2 separate regions of the Homo sapiens genome follow, and region 2 is linked to region 1. The links are contacts of gene promoters, found by promoter capture Hi-C in human tissues and cell types (Jung and others, 2019). All regions are on one chromosome and are shown on one strand. Each heading gives the region's core, a stretch centred on a gene start or on the middle of the fragment in contact. The rest is flanking DNA. Distances are from core to core; before and after follow the strand shown.

The links. The method cuts DNA at HindIII sites, captures the fragments that hold promoters and counts their contacts. A contact is called where the count stands out against the background at its distance.
Region 2: a contact is called between a fragment that was not itself captured here and the fragment with the promoter of NCMAP in region 1, in 1 of the 25 tissues and cell types used here (hippocampus).

The regions. Positions count from the first base shown.
Region 1 is chr1:24,553,913-24,559,155 of GRCh38, forward strand. It overlaps NCMAP (non-compact myelin associated protein), which reads left to right and starts at 2,175. Exons shown (of 4, transcript NM_001010980.5): 1 at 2,175-2,257. NCMAP-DT (NCMAP divergent transcript) reads right to left here and starts at 2,112. Exons shown (of 3, transcript NR_109781.1): 1 at 1,904-2,112. The HindIII fragment of the contact is 18,614 bases long and covers 1-5,243 here.
Region 2 is chr1:24,611,368-24,616,610 of GRCh38, forward strand. No RefSeq gene overlaps it. Among named protein-coding and RNA genes, the nearest start is that of SRRM1, 29 kb to the right of the region's middle. The HindIII fragment of the contact is 7,723 bases long and covers 1-5,243 here.

The DNA.
Region 1 (5,243 bases), core at 925-3,424:
GGAAGGTGAGGTCTACAGGGCAGGGAGGGGCCACCACTGACTCTGCCCCACCTTGCAAAGTGCCTGGCCTATAGTGAACACTCTGTAGCACTTAATGAGTGAATATGCAGCGCGATGAAGAGCCTTTTCATGCTTCTGCCTCCTGGGCTTGGCTGGTGTCTCTGACCCTGGTTATGGGAGGGCTGGTGCAAGGAAGAGCTCCCTTCCCAAACCCCTTACTGTCGGTGTGCACAAACTCATTCTGACAGGGCAGGTGTCCTGTGGCTTAGCCAGCCTGGATTAAGGGACAAAGCAGAAGGTGGGCTTGAGCCATAGATAACAGAAGGCTGAAGACTACCAAACCCCACAGAGAAGGACCTAAGACATCAAAGTCCCCCTTCCCAGCTCCTGCCACTTGGCATAATCATTCTCCCACTTACCTGGCACTTCACAAGTGTGATCTCATTTCTAATCCTCACCGCAACTATACTGAAGTATCTTCTCTTCATTTTACAGAAAGAAACAGTCTCAGAAACTACTCCCATCTTGCGAATAGTAAGCAGTGGAGCCAGGATTTGAACCTGAGACCATGCACTGGGGGCTCTTGCCCCCACAAACAAACCTGGAAAAACTTCCAGAAGCATCCTGAAGTGGCCCCCCCCAGTGCCATTTACTGTGGAACTCAGGCCTCAGGGCCAGAGCAGGCTCCCACTGGACTCCTCTCCCCACATTGTGGCCTCTCCCTGTAACCAGGTCTGCCTCCCCCACAACAGGGAAGCTCTTGAAGCCATGGATTAGCACCATGCTCCTTAAAGACCATACTCAAGTGTCTCAAGTCTTTGATGAGAAAGTAGAATTACAGGATTATACTCTCAATCAATATTTGTTAATACCACCTTGCAGCTGGGCATGGTGGCTCATGCCTGTAATTCCAGTACTTTGGGAGGCCAAGGTGGGAGGATCGCTAGAGCCCAGGAGTTAGAGGCTGCAGTGAGCCGAAATCCCGCCACTGCACTCCAGCTGGGGCAGGAGAGCAAGACCCAGTCTCCATAAAATAAAATGGGTTGGGAGCAGTGGCTCATCCAGCACTTTGAGAGGCCAAGGCTGGTGGATCACTTGAGGTCAAGAGTTGAAGACCATCCTGGCCAACATGGTGAAACCCTGTCCCTACCAAAATATATATATACATACACACACAAAAAAATTAGCCGGGTGTGGTGGCATGTGCCTGTAATCCCAGCTACTCGGGAGGCTAAGCCAAGAGAATCGCTTGAACCAGGAGGCAGAGGTTGCAGTAAGCCGAGATTGTGCCACCACACTCCAGCCTGGGCTGCAGAGTGAGATCCTGTCTCAAAGATAAATAAATAAATAAATACTACCTTGGAGTTTCCTATAAAAATACGTGTTTTCTTCCTATAAAAATCTTAGTTCTTAGCTGAGGAGAGTTTGAAAGCATCTCACAGGCACTGAGCGGCAAGGCAGTCGGCCCAGATGCAATCACTTTCTGGAAATCAATTGAAAATAGAACCGGGAAACCAGCCTCCACTCCTGATACTGTTACTAACCTGCTATAAGACTTTGTGCTCACCTTTGCTTCCTGGGCCTCAGCTTCCCTGTTTCTGAGAGAAGAGATCCCCTCTCCGAGATCTCTTCCCGCTTTCTATAAATATTGATTGAGTACCCGCTGCCTGCCAGGGATATCGCCCTGGGCTCCTGGGATACAGCTGGAATCTCGACAGCCTGGGGAGGAAGGAGCCTTTGATCCTACAGCGGCAAGAGTTCTTGACACTTGCCGGCTGCCAAGCCTGTTTCCTCCCGGTCTAACGTTCTGTGGTTGTCTGAATCTCCAGCTGCCCCTCAAAACCTTCAATCAGATTAGCGCCGTGCTCCTTTAAAGACCCTACTCAAAGTGCCTGGAGCTCACCTGGGTGTGTTTGTGAGGCCCTTTCCCTCTCTTTACCCCGCGGAGGAGTCCGACCTGGAAGCCTCCTGCTGGACTTCTCTACTGGACTGAGTGCCCGGGAGTGCCAGAGCCAGTCCCAAAAAGGACCCAGGAGCGGGGACACCACGGGGAGGCGCCGCCACTCCAGTGTGCGGGACCCTGGCACCCCCGGCGCGTTCTCCGGCCTCCCCAGGATCACCTGCACGGGGCGGGGCCGGGGGCGGGACGCCCCGGGCGGGGGCGGGATCCCAGGGTGGCAGCGCCGGGCGGCGGCGGGGACCCTGGCTGGGAGCGCGGCGGTGCCGGCGGGAGGCCGAGCGGGGCTCGACAGAGCAGGTAGGAGGCGCCTGGTCGCCGGGGTTGCCCGGGGCTGCGGGGAGCGAGGAGCGGTCCGGCCCAGGTGCGGTGGCTTCCTGTCCACCTGCCGGCCGCGCTGGGCGAAGGAGGGCCCGGGGGTGGGGACGAGGGGTCCCCAGTCTCACCCCCACATCTGTTGGAGGAAGTGCCTGGGGTCTGCGCGGGAGGGCGTTGGTCCGGGGTGGTGGGAGGGAGGCTGATCATCTCCAGTGGGTCTTGGAGACGAGGTCGTTTCCTTGTCCCCTCCCCACCCAAGCATCTGGCGGAGGGGCCGAGGCTCGCTGGAAGAAAAGGGAGTCGACCTTGACCCGGCCTGGAGATAAAGGAACTTTTACCCACTTGGGGCCTTATCCGCCCCATCTGTTAAATGGGCGCCTTGATGGGTCTGCCCTATGCAGAGGCCCCTCCGGAAGATCTGCGATTCAGCGAGATGAAAACCCACGGCAGAGAAGGAGCCCAGGGCCGTAGTTTCCATCCACAGCACGTTTGGAGGGGCTCGGGGGTCGCTCATCCAGCAGCGCTCCTGAGGAAGGATGCAGAGACGGCTCCAGTCCTCTGGGTATCCTTGTGGGAGGAGATGGCTGTGTCAAATATGAAGGCTGGATTAGAGAGACCAAGGCAGCCCTTGAGTCTGGGAGAAGATTCTGGAAGGCCCCTTGGAGGAGGTGGCATCTGAGTGGGGCAGGGAAAGGAAAGGTGGTGGTTAGGGCAGCGCTTTGGAGTCCCTGCTTTACCCCTCAGCCAAGGCCGTCCAACAGTCTCGGGCAAGTCCACACTTTTCTCTATGTTTCAGTTTGATGTGCTCCTTAAATGAAACAATTTCTCTGACAGATTAAATCAGATAACTCATAAAGTGTTTAATACAGGGTGGGTATATAGTAGGCACTCAATGAACATGAGCTATTAATGTCTGCTAGCAGCTGCTTGGGGGCAGGGATGATGCCTATTTGGTTCACCCTTGTATCCCCAGCACCAGCACGGTGCCCAGCATGCAGTAGGTCTCAATACATATTTGTCCAATGAATGAATGAATGCATATGAAGTACAATGCTTGGCACAAATAGTGAATTTACAGATGGCTGGTTCTAAGAGGTGGGTATGGATACTAGAGACAGTGGTCTAGGTGGATGGAACAGTTATAAGCAGAAGCCAAGAGCAACAGATTATAGGCACCCCCTCTTATGGTGCATGTGTGTATGTGTGCATGTGTGTGTGTGTGCGCTTGTGTGCATGTGTGTGCATGTGGGTGTGTGCACGTGTGTGCGTGTGTGTGCGTGTGTGTGTTGGTGGTGGTAGTAGAAAGTGACAGGCACAGCCAGAGCACCGGGATAGAAGAGGGCACATAATACCCTGGAATCCTGAGTCCCATCAGCCCGTGGGAGTGGATGATGGGGCAGGAACTCTAGGTAGGCCAATACCTTTACTCATGTCCTCTAAGTGGGGAGAGGGGACAGAAGGGCAGCCAAGAGACACCAAAGGACCATGAATGCCTGGTGGGAGGGGAGGAGGAAATGGGAAGGGGGTTCCCATGACCCCTTCATGGCCTGTGGCTTTCTTCACCTTGTCCCTGCTGGGCTCTGTGCTGGCTGGGGCCGAGATGAGCTGTGGGGAGGCAGCATGGTGCCAAGCCAGCCAGCCGCGGCGCGTGCGGTGAGCTGGGCATATAGTGAGCTGGGCTTGAGGAACTGGCTGGGCTCTGTGGGAATCTAGTGTAGTGGTTTCCTATCAACAGCTTATCCCCTGGGCCAGTTCCTGGGCTCCGTAGCACCATGTGGACTATGGCCATTCCTGCCTGAAGTCAGGAAGGAGCTGTGTCCTTGAGGTAGAGCCACTCTAAGCAAAGCTAGTTTCAGTTTTGTGACGTCCTGGCAGGCAGCTGCAGTGGGTTTCCATCTCCCTGGGTTGACCACGAATATGTGAGAAGCAAAGTTCTAAAGTGCAGGTGGAGACTGGAGGAGTACATGAACAGTTGGGAGGCGCTGGACCCCCTAAGGGGGCCAAGTTCGAAGCTTCTCCTTGTAGCACTTTCCATAATTGCCAACAACCCTTGTTTAATATCGGTGTTTTGCCCTAAGCTCTAGAAAAGCAGGGAGCAAGGCTGCCTTGCTTCTCACTTTGTCCCCACCTAGCATGGTGTGTGGCTCACAGGAGGGGCTCAAGGAATCTATGTGGAATGCATCCACCCAGGCTGAGGATGGAGCTTTTGGCTTTGAGAGAGGAGATTCCGACAACACTGACCATGAGCTTCTTGTTTCATCGTGTGGTCCCCCCACTGTCCCCATCCCCTCTCTCACATTTTGTACCTCCACCCTTTCTCCTGCCATCATCAATGCCTTTTCTCAGAGAAGGATCTAGTGCTAGACATTGACACATGAGGGGAGGCCTCACACTATGTCACTGTTCCCTGGGCTCCCAGAGGAGAAAGTGACGTCCAAGCTGACCCCCCCTCATCCTGTTGCTCCTGGGACACAGGGTCATAGTGTGTTAGAGGTGACAGGATCTCTACAGGGAGCGGAGCGCACTGTCACTCTCAGGGTTTGCAAACCAGGATCTGGACGTGATGTTCAGGGTCACGTAGAGTTGGGGAAGACCATTTCTCCTAACTCCAACAGCTTTCCACACTCAGTAAGCGGTGGCGTTCTCCAGGAATTGTAAATGCAGCAACACTTCCCTTTATTTTTCAGTCATCCAATAAATTGGGATGAAAGGTTAAAAAGAAAAGAAAAGAAAGGTAAAGTGGATTTTAAGTTGCCCAATAAACTCTTTTAATTTCTTAAAAAAAAAACCTCATGTATGATGAAAAGAAAGACCCCAAATTACATCTATTCACCTGACTTTTAAAAAGATATATATATTTGATATTGAAGAGAAATATCCAAAACAGAACTTCTGTAATTTGGGCTAAACCTGTTGCTGGCCAGAAGTGCCTGTGGTAAGATGTCCACTTTGCATGCTGCTGTCCAAG
Region 2 (5,243 bases), core at 1,446-3,945, 58 kb after region 1:
CTTGACTTTTACCACCCTAGAACGACCTTGTCTACAGGTTGAATAATACAATGTCAACTCTTCTGTTTCTGGTTTCTTTCTTATAACATTGTATTCTTAATATTTATTCCTGTTGTCAATGTAGTTGAAGATAATTCATTCTCCTTGCAGTAGTATTTCATTTTGTGAATATAAGTAGGTTTTATGTATCCATTCTGCTGTCTGATATATCTAAAAGTTGTTTCTAGTTTGGGTCTGTAATCAATAGTGCTACTATGAACATTTTGGTGATTGTCCAGTGGTTCTACTAGGAATATTCTGGTGATTGTATATATGTTTCTGTTGGGAACATTTCCAGTAGAGTAATTGCTAGGTCATAAGATATGTGTATACTCAGCCTTAGTCAACAGAGACAAACAGTTCTCCAAAGAGTTGTACCAATATCCATTCCCATTAGCAACGTATGAGAATTCCAGTTGCTCCCCATCCTTCACTGACACTAGGATATCTCCAAAATCTTTAATTTCAGTCATCCTGATATGTGTGCCATGGTCTCTCATTGTGGCTTTAATTTGTATTCCCTGATGATTAATGGAATTGATCACTTTTTCTTATGTCATTGGCCAACTGAATTTCATCTTTTAAGAAGTTACTTTTCAGTCTATTTTTTGGTTTTACTTTTTTTTTAATACAAAGTCTTGTTATGTTGCTCAGGATGGCCTTGAACTCCTGACCTCAAGCAATCCTCCTGCCTCAGCCTCCCGAGTAGCTGGGATTACAGACATGAGCCACTGTGATCAGCTCAGTTCATATATTTGTATTTGGTTATCTTCCATTTTTATTATTATTTGTAGATATTTTTCTTTTTTGGGGGGGGTGTAGAGTCTCACTCTGTCACCCAGGCTGGAGTGCAGTGGCACAACCTCGGCTCATTGCAACCTCTGCCTCCCAAGTTCAAGCGATTCTCCTGCCTCAGCCTGCCAAGTAACTGGAACTACAGGCACGCACCACCACACCTGGCTAATTTTTTTTTTTTTTTTTGTATTTTTAGTAGAGACAGGGTTTCACCATGTTGGCCAGGATGGTCTTGATCTCTTGACCTTGCGATTTGCCCACCTCAGCCTCCCAAAGTGCTGGGATTACAGGTGTGATCCACCACACCCGGCCACATTCTGGATATATTAATAAGTCCTTTGTTGTCCTATAGCTTGCCTTTTTAAGTTCTTTTATTTTTTTTTTTTATTTTTTGAGACAGTTTCCATTTGTAGCCCAGGCTGGAGTGCAGTGCTGTGATCTCGGCTCACTGCGGCCACCGCTTCCCGGGTTCAAGTGATTCTCCTGCCTCAGCCTCCCAAGTAGCTGGGATTACAGGCATGCACCACCACACCCAGCTAATTTTTGTATTTTTAGTAGAGACGGGTTTTCGCCACGTTGGCCAGGATGGTCCCAAACGCCTGATCTCAAGTGATCCGTCTGCCTTGGCCTTCCAAAGTGCTTGGATTACAGGCATGAGCCACCTCTGGCTTGCCTTTAAAAGAAAAAAAATAGCTCTATTGAGATAGAATTTATTTATAAAGTTCACCTCTGTAAAGGGCCCAATTCAGTGGTTTTAATATATTCACAGACTTGTGCAGCCATCACCACTATCAAATTTATCATCCCCAAAAGAACCTCCAGTGCCCGTTAGCAGTCACTTCCCACTGCCCTCTCTCCCCAGCCCCTGGCAGCCACTACTCTACTTTTTGTCTCTATGGATTTGCCTATTGTGGACATTTCATGTAATGGAATCACACTATGTGGTCTTTTGTGACTGGCTTCTTCTGGTTAACATAACTTTTCAAGGTTCATCTATGTTGTTGCATGTATCACTATTTCATTCCTTTTTATGGCCGAATAATATTCCATTATATAGATATATCACATTTTGTTTATCCATTCATCAGGTGAACAACAGGGTTGTTTCCACTGTTGGGCTATTATAAATAATGGTGTTGTGAGGCCGGGCGCGGTGGTTTACACCTGTAATTCCAGTACTTTGGGAGGCTGAGGCAGGCGGATCACTTGAAGTCAGGAGTTTGAAACCAGCCTGGCCAACATGGTGAAACTCCTTCTCTACTAAAAAAAAAAAAAAAAAAAAACAAAAATTAGCTGGACATGGTGGCCCATGCCTGTAATTCCAGCTACTCGGGAGGCTGAGGCAGGAGAATTGCTTGAACCCGGGAAGCTGAGGTTGCAGTGAGCCGAGATTGTGCCACTGCACTCCAGCCTGGGTGACAAAGTGAGACTCCATCTCAAAAATAAACAAATAATAATAATAATAATGGTGCCGTGAACATTATGTACAAGTTTTTGTGCAGACATAGGCTCTAATTCTCTTGGGCATATACCTTAGGAGAGGAATTGCTGCAGGATATGATAACTCTATGTTTAACCTTTTGAGGAAATGCCAAACTGTTTTCTGAAGTGGCGCCACCATTTAATATCGTCACCAGTAATGTATGAGGGTTCTCATTCCTCCGCTTCCTCATTAACACTTGTTATTGTCCATCTTTTCTATTCTAGCCATCCTAATAAGTAAGAAATGGTATCTCATGGTGGTTTTGATTTGCATTTCCCTAGTGAATGATATTGAACATCTTTTTCATGTACAGATTGGTGATTTTTATATCATTTTTGAAGAAATGTCTATTGCAACTTCTTTGCTCATTTTTAAATTGGGTTATTTGATTTTTGTTGTTTTGACTTGTAAGAATTCTTTCTATATTCTGGATACAAGTCCCTTATAAGATATATAATTTGCAAACATTTTCTCCTGTTCTGTGGGTTGTCTTTTCTTCACTTTCTTGGTGATGTCCTTTGCAGCACAAATGTTTTAAATTATTATTATTATTATTATTATTATTTTTTTTTTTTTTTTTTGAGACAGAGTCTTGCTCTGTCTCCCAGGCTGGAGAACAATGGCACAATCTTGGCTCACTGCAACCTCCACCTCCCAGGTTCAAGCAATTCTCTTGCCTCAGCTTCCTGAGTAGCTGGGATTACAGGCGCGCACCACCGCTCCCATCTAATTTTTGTATTTTTAGTACAGACAAGGTTTCACCATGTTGGTCAGGCTGGTCTCAAACTCCGGACCTCAGGTGGTCTGCCCGCTTCAGCCTCCCAAAGTGTTGGGATCACAGGCGTGAGCCACCATGTCCGGCCCAAACATTTTTAATTTTGACAAAGCCCAATTCATCTATTTTTGTCTTTTGTCACTTGTGCTTTTGATTTCATATCTCAGAAATCATTGCCTGATCCAAAGTAATGAAGGTTTACTCCCATGTTTTCTTGTAAGTGTTTTCTAGTTTTAGCTCTTAAAATTTGGTCTATGATCCATTTTGAGTTAATTTTTTTCTTTTTATTCTGATCAAACTGAGGACCAAGTTATTGAGTTAATTTTTATATATGGTATGAGATAGGGGACCAGCTTTATCCTTTTGCATGTAGATATTCACTTCTCCCAGCACCGTATGTTGAAAAGACTATTTTTTCCCATTGAATTATCTTGGTACTCTAGTCAAAAAACAGTTGACCATAAATAGGAGGGTTTATACCTGGACTCTGAATTCTGTTCCATGATCTATATTTCTATTCTTCTACCATTATCACACTGTGTTGATTTATAATAAGTTTGGAAATCAGGAAGTGTGAGTCCTCAAACTTTTTCCTGTCCTCCCTCTTTGTTTTCCTTGTTCAAGATTATTTTGGGCCGTGCGTGGTGGTTCATGCCTGAAATCCTAGCACTTTGGGAGGCCAAGGTGGAGGGATCACTTGAGGTCAGGAGTTTGAGACCAGCCTGGCTAACACAGTGAAACCCCAACTCTACTAAAAATTAGCCGGGCATGGTGGTGCCTGCCTGTAATCCCAGCTACTTCAGAGGTTGAGGCAGGAGAATCGCTTGAACCCAGGAGGCGGAGGTTGCAGTGAGCTGAGATCACACCATTGCACTCCAGCCTGGGGGACAAGAGCAAAACTCCGTCTCAAAAAAAATAAAAAAGAAAAGAAAAAGATTATTTTGGCTATTCTAGGTTTCTTGTATCTCTGTATGAATTTTAGTATCAGCTTGTCAATTTTGCAAAAATGGCAGCTGGGATTTTGATAGAAATTAAGTTGAATTTGTAGATCAAATTGGGTAGTATTGCCGTTTTAATAACATTAAGTCTTTTGTTCCATGAACATGGATGTATTTTTATTTATTTTGGTCTTCTTTAATTTTTGCAAAGAAATTTTGGTTTTCAGTGTACAAATCTTTCACCTTTTTTGCTAAATATTTCTCTAAGTATTTTATGCTTTTTGATACTATCATAAATGTTTTAATTTCCTTTTTGAATTTTTCATTGCTAGTGCATAGAAATGCAACTAATTTTGCCTGTTGATTTTGTATACTGCAATATTGAGGAATTTTTAAAATTAGCCCTAACAGGTTTTTTGTTTTTTGTGGGATCTTTAGGGTTTTTACATATGAGATCATGTCATTTGCAAATAGAGGTCATTTTACTTCTTCCTTTACAATCTGGATACCTTTTATTTCTTTTTCTTACCGAATTGCTCTGGCTAGAACTTCCAGTACTAGGTTGAATAGAGGTGATGAGAGCAGGCATTTTTGTCTTCTTCCTGATCTTAGAGGAAAGCAACCAGTCTTTCATCATTAAATATGATGATACCCATGAATTTTTCTGCAGATGGCCTTTTTTAGGTTGAGGAAATTAACTTCTGTTTCTACTTTGAGTGTTTTTATCAGGAAAGGGAGTTGAATTTTGCCAAATGCTGTTTCTATATTTATCAAGATAATCATATTGTTTTCATATTTTATTCTATTAATATGGGATATTACCTCTATTGATTTTCATATGTTTTTGTTGAGGATTTTTGCATCTATATTTATAAGACATATAGGTCTGTAGTTTTCTTATGATGTCTTTGTTTGGTTTTCATATCAGAGTAATACTGGCCTCATAGAATGAGTTGGGAAGCATTTTCTCCTTTTCTATTTTTTGGAAGCATTGGTATTAATTCTTTAAACATCTGGTAGAATTTACCAGTGAAGCCATCTGGGTCTGAGCTTTTCTTTGTAAGAAGTGTGTTGTTGTTGTTTTAACTACTATTACTAATGCAATCTTTTTACTTGTTATGGGTCTATTCAGATTTTCTATTTCTTCTTAAGTCAGTTTTGGTAACTTGTGTCTTTTCAGGAATTTGTTCATTTTATCTAGGTTAGCTAGTTT